Linked DNA regions of Homo sapiens: all the other regions are linked to region 2. Evidence: promoter capture Hi-C in human tissues and cell types (Jung and others, 2019). All regions are on one chromosome and are shown on one strand. Each heading gives the region's core, a stretch centred on a gene start or on the middle of the fragment in contact. The rest is flanking DNA. Distances are from core to core; before and after follow the strand shown. Region 1 has its middle 24 kb from the start of ANXA1. Region 2 holds the start of RORB (RAR related orphan receptor B). Region 3 overlaps LOC105376084 (a long non-coding RNA gene).

What was found. The method cuts DNA at HindIII sites, captures the fragments that hold promoters and counts their contacts. A contact is called where the count stands out against the background at its distance.
Region 1: a fragment that was not itself captured here is called in contact with the fragment with the promoter of RORB in region 2 in 1 of the 25 tissues and cell types used here (lymphoblastoid cells).
Region 3: a contact is called between a fragment that was not itself captured here and the fragment with the promoter of RORB in region 2, in 2 of the 25 tissues and cell types used here (dorsolateral prefrontal cortex and mesenchymal stem cells).

What each region holds. Positions count from the first base shown.
Region 1 is chr9:73,174,095-73,178,083 of GRCh38, forward strand. No RefSeq gene overlaps it. Among named protein-coding and RNA genes, the nearest start is that of ANXA1, 24 kb to the left of the region's middle. The HindIII fragment of the contact is 4,050 bases long and covers 1-3,403 here.
Region 2 is chr9:74,495,214-74,499,315 of GRCh38, forward strand. RORB (RAR related orphan receptor B) reads left to right here and starts at 2,122. Exons shown (of 10, transcript NM_006914.4): 1 at 2,122-2,770. The coding sequence starts at 2,764. It overlaps RORB-AS1 (RORB antisense RNA 1), which reads right to left and starts at 3,340. Exons shown (of 5, transcript NR_125791.1): 1 at 3,029-3,340. RefSeq lists silencers at 1,758-1,970, 1,966-2,155, 2,060-2,354 and an enhancer at 4,024-4,102. The HindIII fragment of the contact is 7,823 bases long and covers 1-4,102 here.
Region 3 is chr9:73,463,511-73,467,584 of GRCh38, forward strand. LOC105376084 (a long non-coding RNA gene) reads left to right here. Exons shown (of 7, transcript XR_007061581.1): 7 at 1-1,057. Among named protein-coding and RNA genes, the nearest start is that of ANXA1, 310 kb to the left of the region's middle. The HindIII fragment of the contact is 5,473 bases long and covers 1-4,000 here.

The sequences.
Region 1 (3,989 bases), core at 129-2,628, 1.3 Mb before region 2:
GCTATCAAGCAAAAGACATGGAAGAATCTTAAACACATACTGCTGAGTGAAAAAAGCCAGTCTGAAAGTCTACATATTACATGATTCCAACTATATAAATACTGAAAATATTGAAAAAGACAAAACTTATGGAGACAGTAAAAAGATCAATGATTTCCAGGGGTTAGGTTGAAGGGGGGAGGGATAAATAGGTGGAGCACAGAACAGTTTTAGGGCAATGAAACTATTCTGTATGATACTATAATGGTAGATACATGGCAGTTACACATTTCCAAGAACCTGTAGAACTGTATAATACAAAGAGTGAATCTTATGTAAACTATGGATATTGGTTAATAATATATCAAGGGAAAAATAAGGGAGAGGTAGAAAGGGTGTATGGAGACTCTAATTTCCGTGCAATTTTTCTGTAAACCTAAAACTGCTCTATAAAAATAAAGTCTATTAAAATAGCTATCTAATTGTAAAGCTCATAATATAGCCAGGGAGAAAAAAGCTATGCAAAATATGATGGTATAATGTATTAAAGGTAATATATAGGCACATAGGAAGCGCTTTGGTAAATCAAGAGAGAGTAATGGATTCAGGAAAGGCTACAAAACAGCAAAAACCTGAATGGCTAGTGGCATTTCATATTCCTGAATGAATTAATTATCTTTTGTATTGAGAATTAAGACCTAACAACTATAATTAGATGCATTTTTACAAAAATATTATTCTGTTTTCAAATAAACCTGGGAGGGAGGTGTTATCTGCTTTCTACAAATGAAGAAATCAAAGTTTCCAGATTTCTCTGGACTTGTCCAAGTTCATACAGTAGGTCAATGAATAAACACAAATTTGAACACAGGCTTTCTGACTATGGATCCATTTCACTAAAGTTACAGGAAGAAAATTATGAGAAGAAAGACCATAGATATGAGGGAAAAATGAAACTAAATGAGAACCTGCTTCAGATGCCAGGTCTTGTTGCAAGATACTATTATAAAATAAGTTGGTTTTGTCATGGAGTAGTGGAAACTCTGTACAATCAGTGAGGAATCTCTTAAACACAATGGTAATAATATTTTCAAATATATAAAAATCTAGGAAGTATATATAATAATAAGTACATTTTTACCCAAAAAGTAAAAAATAGAAATATTGTCTTTTGCTTACAGATATAGTGATTTTTTTTTTTTGGCAAATCTAATAAACAAGGCCATGAAATGCAATTGTATATTTTCTACTTTTTTTGATATCATATTCCCCTTCAATGGTTAGGTTTAAAGAAAAAAATACTTGAGAGTTGTAAATGTCAAATATTAGAAAGAAATATATTTATTATCAAGATTTAGGAGAAAAGGCTGCTCTGCTTATGGAGTAGCCATTCTTTATTTCTTTACTTTCTTAATGAACTTGCTTTCACTTTACTCTATGGACTTGCCCCAGATTCTTTCTTGCGTGAGATCCAAGAACCCTCTCTTGGGGTCTGGATCAGGACCCTTTTCTGGTAACATCTTCCTGGTGACCATGAAGGGACTATACTGAAGAGACCCCTGACCTGAAGGAAATAGATTGCAGCACCAACTTTGAGAAAGTGGTGGGGTACATTTTACCCCAGTAAAGGATGATGTTGGGTTAGAGGCCCAACTTAGGAGAGTCTCTCCTAAGACAAAGAAGGTTAAAATTCCCCCCACCCCACTTTTTTTTTTTGAGACGGAGTTTCGCTCTTGTTGTCCAGGCTGTGCAACCTCTGCTTCCCAGGTTCAAGCCATTCTCATGCTTCCGCCTCCCGAGTAGCTGGGATTACAGGCATGTGCTACCACACCCAGCTAATTTTTGTATTTTTTAGTAGAGACGGGGCTTCACCAGGTTGGTCAGGCTGGTGGAACTCCTGACCTCAGGTGATCCACCCACCTCGGCCTCCAAAAGTGCTGGAATTACAGGCGTGAATAAAAGGCAAGGACGCTTGACCAAACTTGGGTTTGAGGACCAGCATAGGAAGGTTAGAGTGCTTCCTAAAATGTAGGGGGTTAGAGGCCCCTCTCAGTAAAGTCTCTCTTTGTTAAAAATGGATTTGGCACTATGGGATGTTAACCACTATTCTCTGTGGATTAATCTGCCTTGCACTGTTTGCTGATGGCTATGGGTGAAAGGATTAGGCGTGTACAGGATCATGGGACATGGGGAGCTTTTTCCTCCCCAAAGGGGGAAACTTGAGAGCTGATAGGACCCCTGGAAAAGATCCCTTCACAACTGTCAAGCGACCGCCTGAACTTTTGATTCAGTGTTGCTACAATGGGTGGGTCTTTCTCTGGCCTTCCTGAGCTACTTGCCTTCCCTACCTCATCACAGGCTATGCTTTTCTCTCTCTTTCTCTCCTTTCCCTTTCCTATCTTTTCTTTTACTCAGGGCAGCCATCTTTCCCAGAGACCACGTGTTGAAACTTCTTTAATCCACTTTGAATGGATTAAAGATGACAGAGCCTTACCAGGGGCAAGTGTGAGCCTTGCCAGTTCAATACTGGCACTAAGCTGAGTGACTAATGTCTATATTTTGTCACACGTATTTTGCTCTGCCCAGATGGCAAATGTTAATGTGGTTACCCCATGCAACCCCTTGGGTGGCACCTTACAATACTGAGAAGCTTTTGTTTGTGATTCCACAAAATGCCAGTCTCCTTAGTCACTCAGCTTAGTGCCAGTAGGGCGTGGCTTCCCCCCCAGCTCTCCATCTTCTTTGGGCGGCATACTTTTCAGCACTCTCTGTATTCCCCTGCACTGGCCTTCTACAAGCCTTACTCTGTCTATGCTTCCTCCTGTCTCAAGGGCTTTGGACTTCCTCAGCCTAAACACTATATTTTTCTCATTTCATTCTTGTTAACTTTGCTAATTCTTCAAATATCAGCTCAAATATCTCATAGACCCTTTTAACACTACATATCTCTGTACTATATTAAATGCCAGAGTTGTAATTTTATATTTAAGCGATTATTTAGTTAATATTTGTCACTTCTTCTAGAATATGAACAGGTTGTTTGCATAGACTATTTCTTTTCTTTCTTCTTTTTTTTTGCCTTTTATTGTTGTATTGCTATTGTCTGGTACAATAGCTAGCACTTAGTAAAATTATGACAAAAAATGATAGCTTGTGCTATTACAGGTTAGCTCAAAGTGCTTATTCTTTATGCTAAGGCATTTGGTGGACATCAAGAATTATACTCGAATACCAAGGATACAAGACTGGAGCACTGCTGTGTCATACGGTCTCTCTAGCTCTCTTTTCTTGGTTAGTCCAACATGTTGGGGAAAAGATCCATTCTAGAGAAGACACCAGGGCCACAACTGCAGCAGGAAAGTTGCTTTACCTCAAGGACTAGCATGCTTCTGTAAAATCTCTTAGGGATGGAGTGGTTCTACCATTTCAAAATAGCCCTAATTGACAGGGAGCATTTGTTTTCAGCATTTTGCTTTTTTGCTAATCATAAGATGAGCTGAATGAACATCATTGCTAAACTCTATTGAAGGTCTGAGCATAGACAAGATCCAGACTGATGTGAGACAGATTGAGAGCAAAATAGGACCTGAAAGATCGGGAAAGCACCATGGGAGCATCATGGACACAGCTTTCTTCTGGTCCCCTGGAATGTCCCTTTTACATTCACTTGAACACTGGGTTTAAAGAATCACTAATCTAACACTACTATTTCTAAAACTCCTTCAATAATGTATGTGTTACCTATATCTGCTGTTTGGTCTACGTTCCTTCATTCTTCCACATTCACAAACCAAAGATTAGGCTTTCTTGACTTTCTGTAAATTGAAAGTTGTATTGTTATTTATGTATTCATTGTGACACACAAAGAGCTCTGGGAATGAATGTTAACTAAGCAAAGCTGTTTCACCCTCTATTTGTTGAATGAAATTTGTCTTTTGTTTTTTTTAATCTAGTGACACCTAATTGCAACCTGTATTGTCTTTTAATTTATAGAAACATGAATACTTTTA
Region 2 (4,102 bases), core at 872-3,371:
TTTGAAAAATGAAATAATATAGTCTTCTAATTAATAATTTCTCCAAAAATACTCAGAAGGAATTAAGAAATATGTTCTAAGCAAAATTATGCCTTGCTGAAACCACAAAATAAAGAGAATATAAAAATGTATGGGGGGGTAAATACTTTTTATACACGTGTTGACTACCTTTTTCAAGGATTACAGATATTGCAGCATTAAAAAAAAATTCAGAATTCAATAAATGTTTAGAAAGTTAAAATTACATAAATGTTTAAATTTTTGGATTTTGAAATTCCTGTTCACTCTAAAGAGAAATAGAAATCTAAAATGATAACAACAACAATAATAATTAGACAATGTTTACAAAGCCTTTGGAATTTTCAATATTCTTGTGTCTCTGCTTGAAGCAACAAAATTAAAATGATATAGTCACAATTTGTTTCTTGACTATTTTATATTCAGTAATTTTTAATGAAGCAACTAAATTAGGCATAACTTTGTACAGCTTTAACATAGTTATGATGAATATATTTTACTTGATTAAAAATGATAAAACCAGGGAGCCTTAAATATTATCTTAAAAGATTAACTACTGTGTCAATTACAAATCTAGGAGAAAGATATTTATAAAGGAATAACTATTCTAAACAGTAACTTCCTTTTGTTCATTTCATTTAATTAATGACTCAATCAACTTTCACTCTTAATACTAAAATTTTCCTAAATTACACATTGGTTTGCAAATGGGATGGCATATAGCAGGGCTACGTCAATTTAATACTGGTGAAAATTCAGCAGATAATTCATTTTTCATTTAATCAGGAAGGAAAAAACTACTTGGCAGTGTAGAGCGACCTAATTAACTAAATAACTGCCAATTCTACATTGTACTTTGTGTTACATGACATATCATGAATAAATACCAGTCAAAAATCAAATTATTTGGATACTTAAATGATGATGAGGCCTGCTGTGCCAACAGGTATGCTAATGAGTAGACATCTCCCAGCCTCAAGACTGAGTGAATGAGGCAAATATTTTCACCTCCCAATCTTTTAGGGTGTTCAATTAACTCAAGTATTTAAGAAGTTCCCTACTATTGGGAAGGAAGTAGATGTAATCATCTATATGCTTATTTTGTCAACTGAGTTGGAAAAACTTGCAAAGGAACAGTTTGGATATATGTATTAGATTTTTATCAAAATACAAATAAATGGTCATAGATGACAATTTTCACCTAAGGAATACAAGTAAGTTTATCTATGTTCAGTTACCAATCGCCTCTAACTAAAGTTAACAATGTCTTCCTTCTAAAACCTTTCTAAAGAGCACCCTGCAATCACACCTTCTAGCAACAGCCATTTCTCTTGAATTAGTAAGGTGGCTACACCGCCAATTTGAGCTGTTCTCCTTCAGTCCTGTAGTCCATCGCCAGGGGAGTCTCCAAATGCTAATAAAAATCAATTTCCCAGACAAAAGAACATATACACGTTTTTTTCTTTCTTTCTTTCTTTTTTTTTTTTTTTTAGAAGAGGGTCAGGGAGCATCTGACGGACGTTTTTAAAGGAAGGGGACAGCTACTTCCATGGGACTGCATTTTAGTTGTGCTAAAAGTGATGAAAGTGGGTTTGCATTATTCTACCACCAACACCCAAACCACCTGCCCACGGAAACCCCCGCCGGAGACCGAAGTTTACCCAAATAGCGCTCGGCAAAGCGCTGCCATAAATTCAAAACTAACTCTGCCGGGCCCGCGGGGGTTGCGAGACAGGGACCGAACGTGAAACCCGGGGAGCCCCGCGTCTCTTGCCTCCGAAGGTTTTCCGTGATCAGTGTCCCCTTCTCTGCTGGAGTCGGAAGTGCCTGTCACCTGCGGATCTGCCCGACTCTCCCGGTCGGCCCTTCTTCTCTGCCCAGTTCGGACAGTCTCGAATTCCCCGTCGCAGCCCCGGCCACCTCGGACTCCCTGGTCCCCAGCCCCCGCCCCACCCCCCGCCTCCACCACGTCCCCTCCCCGCGGTCCCAGCCTCTCCAGGCGCTGCTGGGCTCTGATTGGCGGCTGCGCTGACAGCAGGCGGGGCCTGGAAGTCGCGGCCAAGCCCGCCCTCGCGTATAAGCCCCTCTCAGCGCTCTCTCTCCATCTCTCCCCTCTCTTTCTCTCTCGCTGCTCCCTTCCTCCCTGTAACTGAACAGTGAAAATTCACATTGTGGATCCGCTAACAGGCACAGATGTCATGTGAAAACGCACATGCTCTGCCATCCACACCGCCTTTCTTTCTTTTCTTTCTGTTTCCTTTTTTCCCCCTTGTTCCTTCTCCCTCTTCTTTGTAACTAACAAAACCACCACCAACTCCTCCTCCTGCTGCTGCCCTTCCTCCTCCTCCTCAGTCCAAGTGATCACAAAAGAAATCTTCTGAGCCGGAGGCGGTGGCATTTTTTAAAAAGCAAGCACATTGGAGAGAAAGAAAAAGAAAAACAAAACCAAAACAAAACCCAGGCACCAGACAGCCAGAACATTTTTTTTTCACCCTTCCTGAAAACAAACAAACAAACAAACAATCATCAAAACAGTCACCACCAACATCAAAACTGTTAACATAGCGGCGGCGGCGGCAAACGTCACCCTGCAGCCACGGCGTCCGCCTAAAGGGATGGTTTTCTCGGCAGAGCAGCTCTTCGCCGACCACCTTCTTCACTCGTGCTGAGCGGGATTTTTGGGCTCTCCGGGGTTCGGGCTGGGAGCAGCTTCATGACTACGCGGAGCGGGAGAGCGGCCACACCATGCGAGGTAAGCGAGTCTGCGGGCACCGAGGCTCCCCGAGTCCGGCCAACTCCAGCCAGACGGGGAGATGGGGGAGGGGAGGGCACCCAGCAGAAAGGGAAAGAGGTTGCCCAGGCGCAGTTCCCCGAATTCGCTCTCGCAGGTGGGGCTGCAAATGGCCTGGGCGTAGAAAGTTGCGGGAAGGTGTTGATGTCTTTCGGGAGTTCTGGAGGGACGCGGGAGGGCGCTTTTTTGGAGAGGGGAGACAGGCTAGTTGGTTCTTACCAGTCCTTGAGTTGCACTGAATCTTTTTTGCTTGTCGCTCTCGGGTGCGGAAGCGGACGCGGGATGGAGAAAGCCGAAAGAGGGATGCCTCTGGACAGGAGCAGTTTGGAAGCGCCCGGCGCGCAGTGGTCGCCGGCCGGGTTTGGGCGCGCGGGGCGCACCGGCCGGGGGCAGGGTGGACACGCGCGGGCACACACTCGCCAGGTTACGAGGCCCACTAAGCGTCCTGGCCAGCAGGCATGTCCCTTCGCTGGAGTAGCAAGCAGAAGAGCAGTGCTGCGAGGCTGGACGCGGCTGAGGAAACAGTTAGTTCCCCGGCACGCGGCTGAGGAAACAGTTCTGCGGCGCGCGCCTTCGTGCCGGCGCTGCGCCCTGGCCAGGTCCTCGTGCCCGAGCCCGCGCGGCCCAGGGAGTAGTGCGACCCCGGAAAAGTTGTAATGAGAAAGTTCTGGAGGCTTGGAAAGGCCACACTGCTCACAGTCGGAGAGTCATGGGCTCCGGCTCTTTTGTCAGATAAAGGGCCGGTAGTGGAAGGAGGTGCTGGTGCACCCTCGGGCCAGGACCCTCGCAGTCGCAGGCGGTGGCGGCGGCGGCGGCGGGACCCCGGGGCGAGCTGGGGTCTGCAGGGATGCGCGCCAGGGACTGTAGCGTTACGCTTGCTCCGGCTGGACTCTGGGCCTCTCGAAGGGCTGGAGGGTGGGTTTCGGGGAGTCACTTGGTCTCCTCTCCTGCCTTGCCGGAGACCTCAGGTTTCCTTCGCGCTGTGCTCGGCCTTTCTTCACTCTTTTACTGAAGAGCCAGGCGGGTGTCCGCTTGACATGGGGATCTGTGCAAGCTCTGGGCACCCACCCCCACTCCCAGTCCCTCTTCCTGGCCACACAGCGGTTAATCGGGGGCTCTTCTCTATCCTTCGCACGTACCCCTGGGTCTTGACAACAGAAAGTTAGTAACGGCCAGCTCCAGACCTTCTTGCATCCCAGACCCGGAGAGAGGTGGTCTAGGCAGGGAGCACTTGGGAGAGTTGGGATGCAATCACTGGTCTCCTCCTTCCACTGAAAGTGATCCTCTCCCACC
Region 3 (4,074 bases), core at 14-2,513, 1.0 Mb before region 2:
CTTCAAGCTTGTGATCCTCTAGGAGAAGAGCATGCTCAAACATAACTTTGGCCTTTTCAGCCAGTGTTCCGAAACAGACATAAATGGAGAGAGACCTGAACCATTCCTACAATCTGGATTTAAGTCTAGACAACATAAAGCCTGAGGCACAGCCACCAGTTTCCATGAACATGGGAATAATGCTGATGTAACCTACTGAATTATGAGATATTTTGTCAACAGCAGTGTGGTGGAAATAGCTGATGAATAGAGTCTACATATACTTCAGAAGCAAACAAATAATTTTAATTCATGCACCTGGATAGTCATGGTTTGTATACATGACAGTCATTGAATGTCTGTCAAGAGAATAAGGGGTATTTGTACATTATGAACATAAAAATGTTGACACTATCATTAGTAAATAAGAAGACATGCAATACTGTTAATGTGTTATATATTACAATGTCATTTATGTAAATAGATGTAATTTTATACACATTGTATTAGTCAACACTATCCAAAGGAACAGAGCCAATATTGTTTGTGTTTGTGTGTGTGTGTGTGTGTGAGAGAGATGTATACACAAAATCTCTCTCTCCCACTCTCTCTCTACAGAAAGAAGGTGAGATAAAGAGATTTTAAGAAGTTGAGTCACAATTATGGGGTCTGTCACATCAAAAATCCACAGAGCCGAAAATCCATATAATTAATCATCACAATATATATACATAAGCATATATTTGCTCTATGCTATACTCTGGAATACATTTTCTTTCTCCTGTGGTGTTATTCCCTATGGCCCTGGATCACTATTTAGATGTTTAAAAAAGATTGTTTATTGCCCTGGCCTGAACTTTGGGGAAAGATTTTGGGAGAAGGAGGTCTTTTCTTTCAATTCTGTCACTTTCTATATATTTTTTAATTTCCTATCCAAGTGCATGTCAGAAATTACCAAGGGCATTTACTGTTTTATGATGATTCAAAATAGAATTCTTGACCAGGAGTAGTGGCTTGTACCTGTAATCCTAGCATTTTGGGAGGCCACTGCAGGAGGAGATTGCTTAAGACCAGGAGTTCAAGACCAGCCTGGGCAATATAGTGAGACCTCCTTGTATTAGACCATTCTTTTTTTATATTTTAAGTTTCACACTCTCTATTTTTGTTTTGTTGGCTCGATTTCTCATTCCTCTTTTTATTTTCATTTTTTACTTCAATAGGTTTTTGGGAAACAGGTGGTGTTTGGTTTCCTGGATAGGTTCTTTAGTGGTAATTTCTGAAAATTTGGTGCACCCTTCACCCACGCAGTGTACTGTACCCAATGTGTAGTCTTTTATCCCTGAACCCCCTTCTACCTTTTCCCACAAGTCCCCAAAGTCCAAATTATCATACTAATGCCTTTGCATCCACATAGCTTAGCTCCTACTTATGAGTGAGAACATACAATGTTTGGTTTTCCATTCCTGAGTTATTTCACTTAGAATAATGGTCTCCAATTCCATGCAGGTTGCATTATTTCATTTTTTTAATGTCTGTGTAGTATTCCATGGTGTGTGTGTGTATATATATACGTATGTATATACATATATGTATATACATACATACATATATGTATATACATATATATATACATACATACATATATGTATATACATATATATATACATACATACATATATATATCACATTTTTTTCTCTATCCACACATTGATTGATGGGCATTTGGGTTGATTTCATATTTTCATAATTGTGAATTGTGCTGCTATAAACATGCATATACAAGTGTCTTTTTTGTATGACTTCTTTTCCTCTGGGTAGATACTCAAGAGAGGGACTGCTGTATCAAAAGGTATATCTACTTTTATTTAATAATTCTTTAAGGAATTTCCACACTGTTTTCCATAGTGTTTGTACTAGTTTACATTCCCACCAGCAATGTAAAAGTATTCCATTTCACCACATCCACGCTAACATCTATTATTTTTTTATTGTGGCCATTCTTGCGGGAGTAGGGTGGTATCACATTGTGGTTTTGATTTGCATTTCCCTGATAATTAGTGATGTTGAGCATTTTTTCATATGTTTGTTGGCAATTTGTACATCTTCTTTTGAGAATTGTCTATTCATGTCCTTAGTCCAATTTGTTATGGAATTGTTTTTTTTTTCTTGCTGATTTGTTTGAGTTCCCTGTAGATTCTGGATATTAGACCTTTGTCAGATGTGTAGTTCATAAAGATTTTCTTCTACTTTGTGGGTTGTCTGTTTGCTAATTATTTCTTTAGTTGTACAGAAGCTTTTTAATTTAATTAAGTCCTATCTATTTATCTTTGTTTTGTTGAATTTGCTTTTAGGTTCTTGGGCATGAAGACTTTGCCTCAGCCTAAGTTTGTTGTAGATTCTGGATATTAGTCTTTGTCAGATGTATAGATTGTGAAGATTATCTCCCACTCTGTGGGATGTCTGTTTACTCTGCTGACTGTTCCTTTTGCCCTGCGAAAACTCTTTGGTGTAATTAAGTCCCACCTATTTATCTTTGTTTTCACTGCATTTGCTTTAGGGTTCTTTGTCATAAAATCCTTGCCTAAGACAATGTCTAGAAGGGTTTTTCCAATGTTATCTTCTAGAATTTTTATAGTTTCATTTCTTAAATTTAAGTCCCTGATTCATCTTGAGTTGATTTTTGTATAAGGTGAGAGATGAGGATCTAGTTTCATTCTCCTACACGTGGCTTGCCAATTATTCCATCACCATTTGTTGAAGAAGGTGTCTTTTCCCCACTTTATGTTTTTGTTTGCTTTGTCAAAGATCAGTTGGCTGTAAGCATTTGGGTTTATTTCTGGGTTCTTTATTCTGTTCCATTGGTCTATGTGCCCATTTTTATACCAGTATCATGCTGTTCTGGTGACTGTGACCTTATAGAATACTTTGAAATCAGGTAATGAGATGCCTCCAGATTTGTTATTTTTGTTTAGTCTTGCTTTGGCTATGCAGGCTATATGTTTGGTTCCATACGAATTTTAGGATTGTTTTTTCTAGTTCTGTGAAGAATGATGATGGTATTTTGATGGGAATTGCATTGAATTTGTAGATCACTTTTGGCAGTATGGTCATTTTCACAATATTGATCCTATGCATCCATGAGCATGAGATGTGTTTCCATTTTTTTGTGTCGTCTATGATTTCTTTCAGCAGTGTTTTGTAGTTTTACTTGTAGAGGTCTTTCAGCTCATTGGTTAGGTATATTCCTAAGTATTTTATTTTTTTGCAACTATTATAAAGTGGGGTTGAGTTCGACTTTCAGCTTTGTCACTGTTGGTTTACAGGAAAGCTACTGATTTGTGTACATTAATTTTTTATCTGAAACTTTGCTTAATTCATTTATCAGTTCTAGGAGCTTTTTGGAGTAGTCTTTAGTGTTTTCTAGGTATATAATCATATCATCAGCAAACAGCAACAGTTTGATTTCCTCTTTACTGATTTAGATGCCTTAATTTCTTTCCCTTGTCAGATAGTACTAGCTAGGACTTCCAGTACTATGTTGAGTAGAAGTGGGCATCCTTTTCTCTTTCCACTTTTCAGGGGGAACACTTTGAACTTTTCCCTGTTCAGTATAATGTTAGCTATGGGTTTGTCATAGATGGCTTTTATTACCTTAAGGAATGTTTCTTTTGTGCCAATTTTTCTGTGGGTTTTAATCATCAAAGGTTCCTGGAGTTTGTGAAATGCTTTTTCTGCATCTATTGAGATGATCATGTGATTTTTGTTTTTAATTCTGTTTATGAGCTGTATCACATTTATTGACTTGCATATGTTAAACCCTCCCTGCATTCCTGGTATGAAACTCACTTGATCATGGTGGATTTTTTTTTATATGTTGTTGAATTTGGTTCACTAGTATTTTGTTGAGGATTTTTGCACCTGTGTTCATCAGAGATACTGGTCTGTAGTTTTCTTCTCTTTTCTTTTTTGTTTTGTCCTTTCCTGGTTGTGGTATTACGGTGATACTAGCTTCATAGAATGGTTTAGGGAGGATTTCCTCTTTCTCTATCTTTTGAATAGTGTCAATAGGATTGGTACCAATTCTTCTTTGAATGT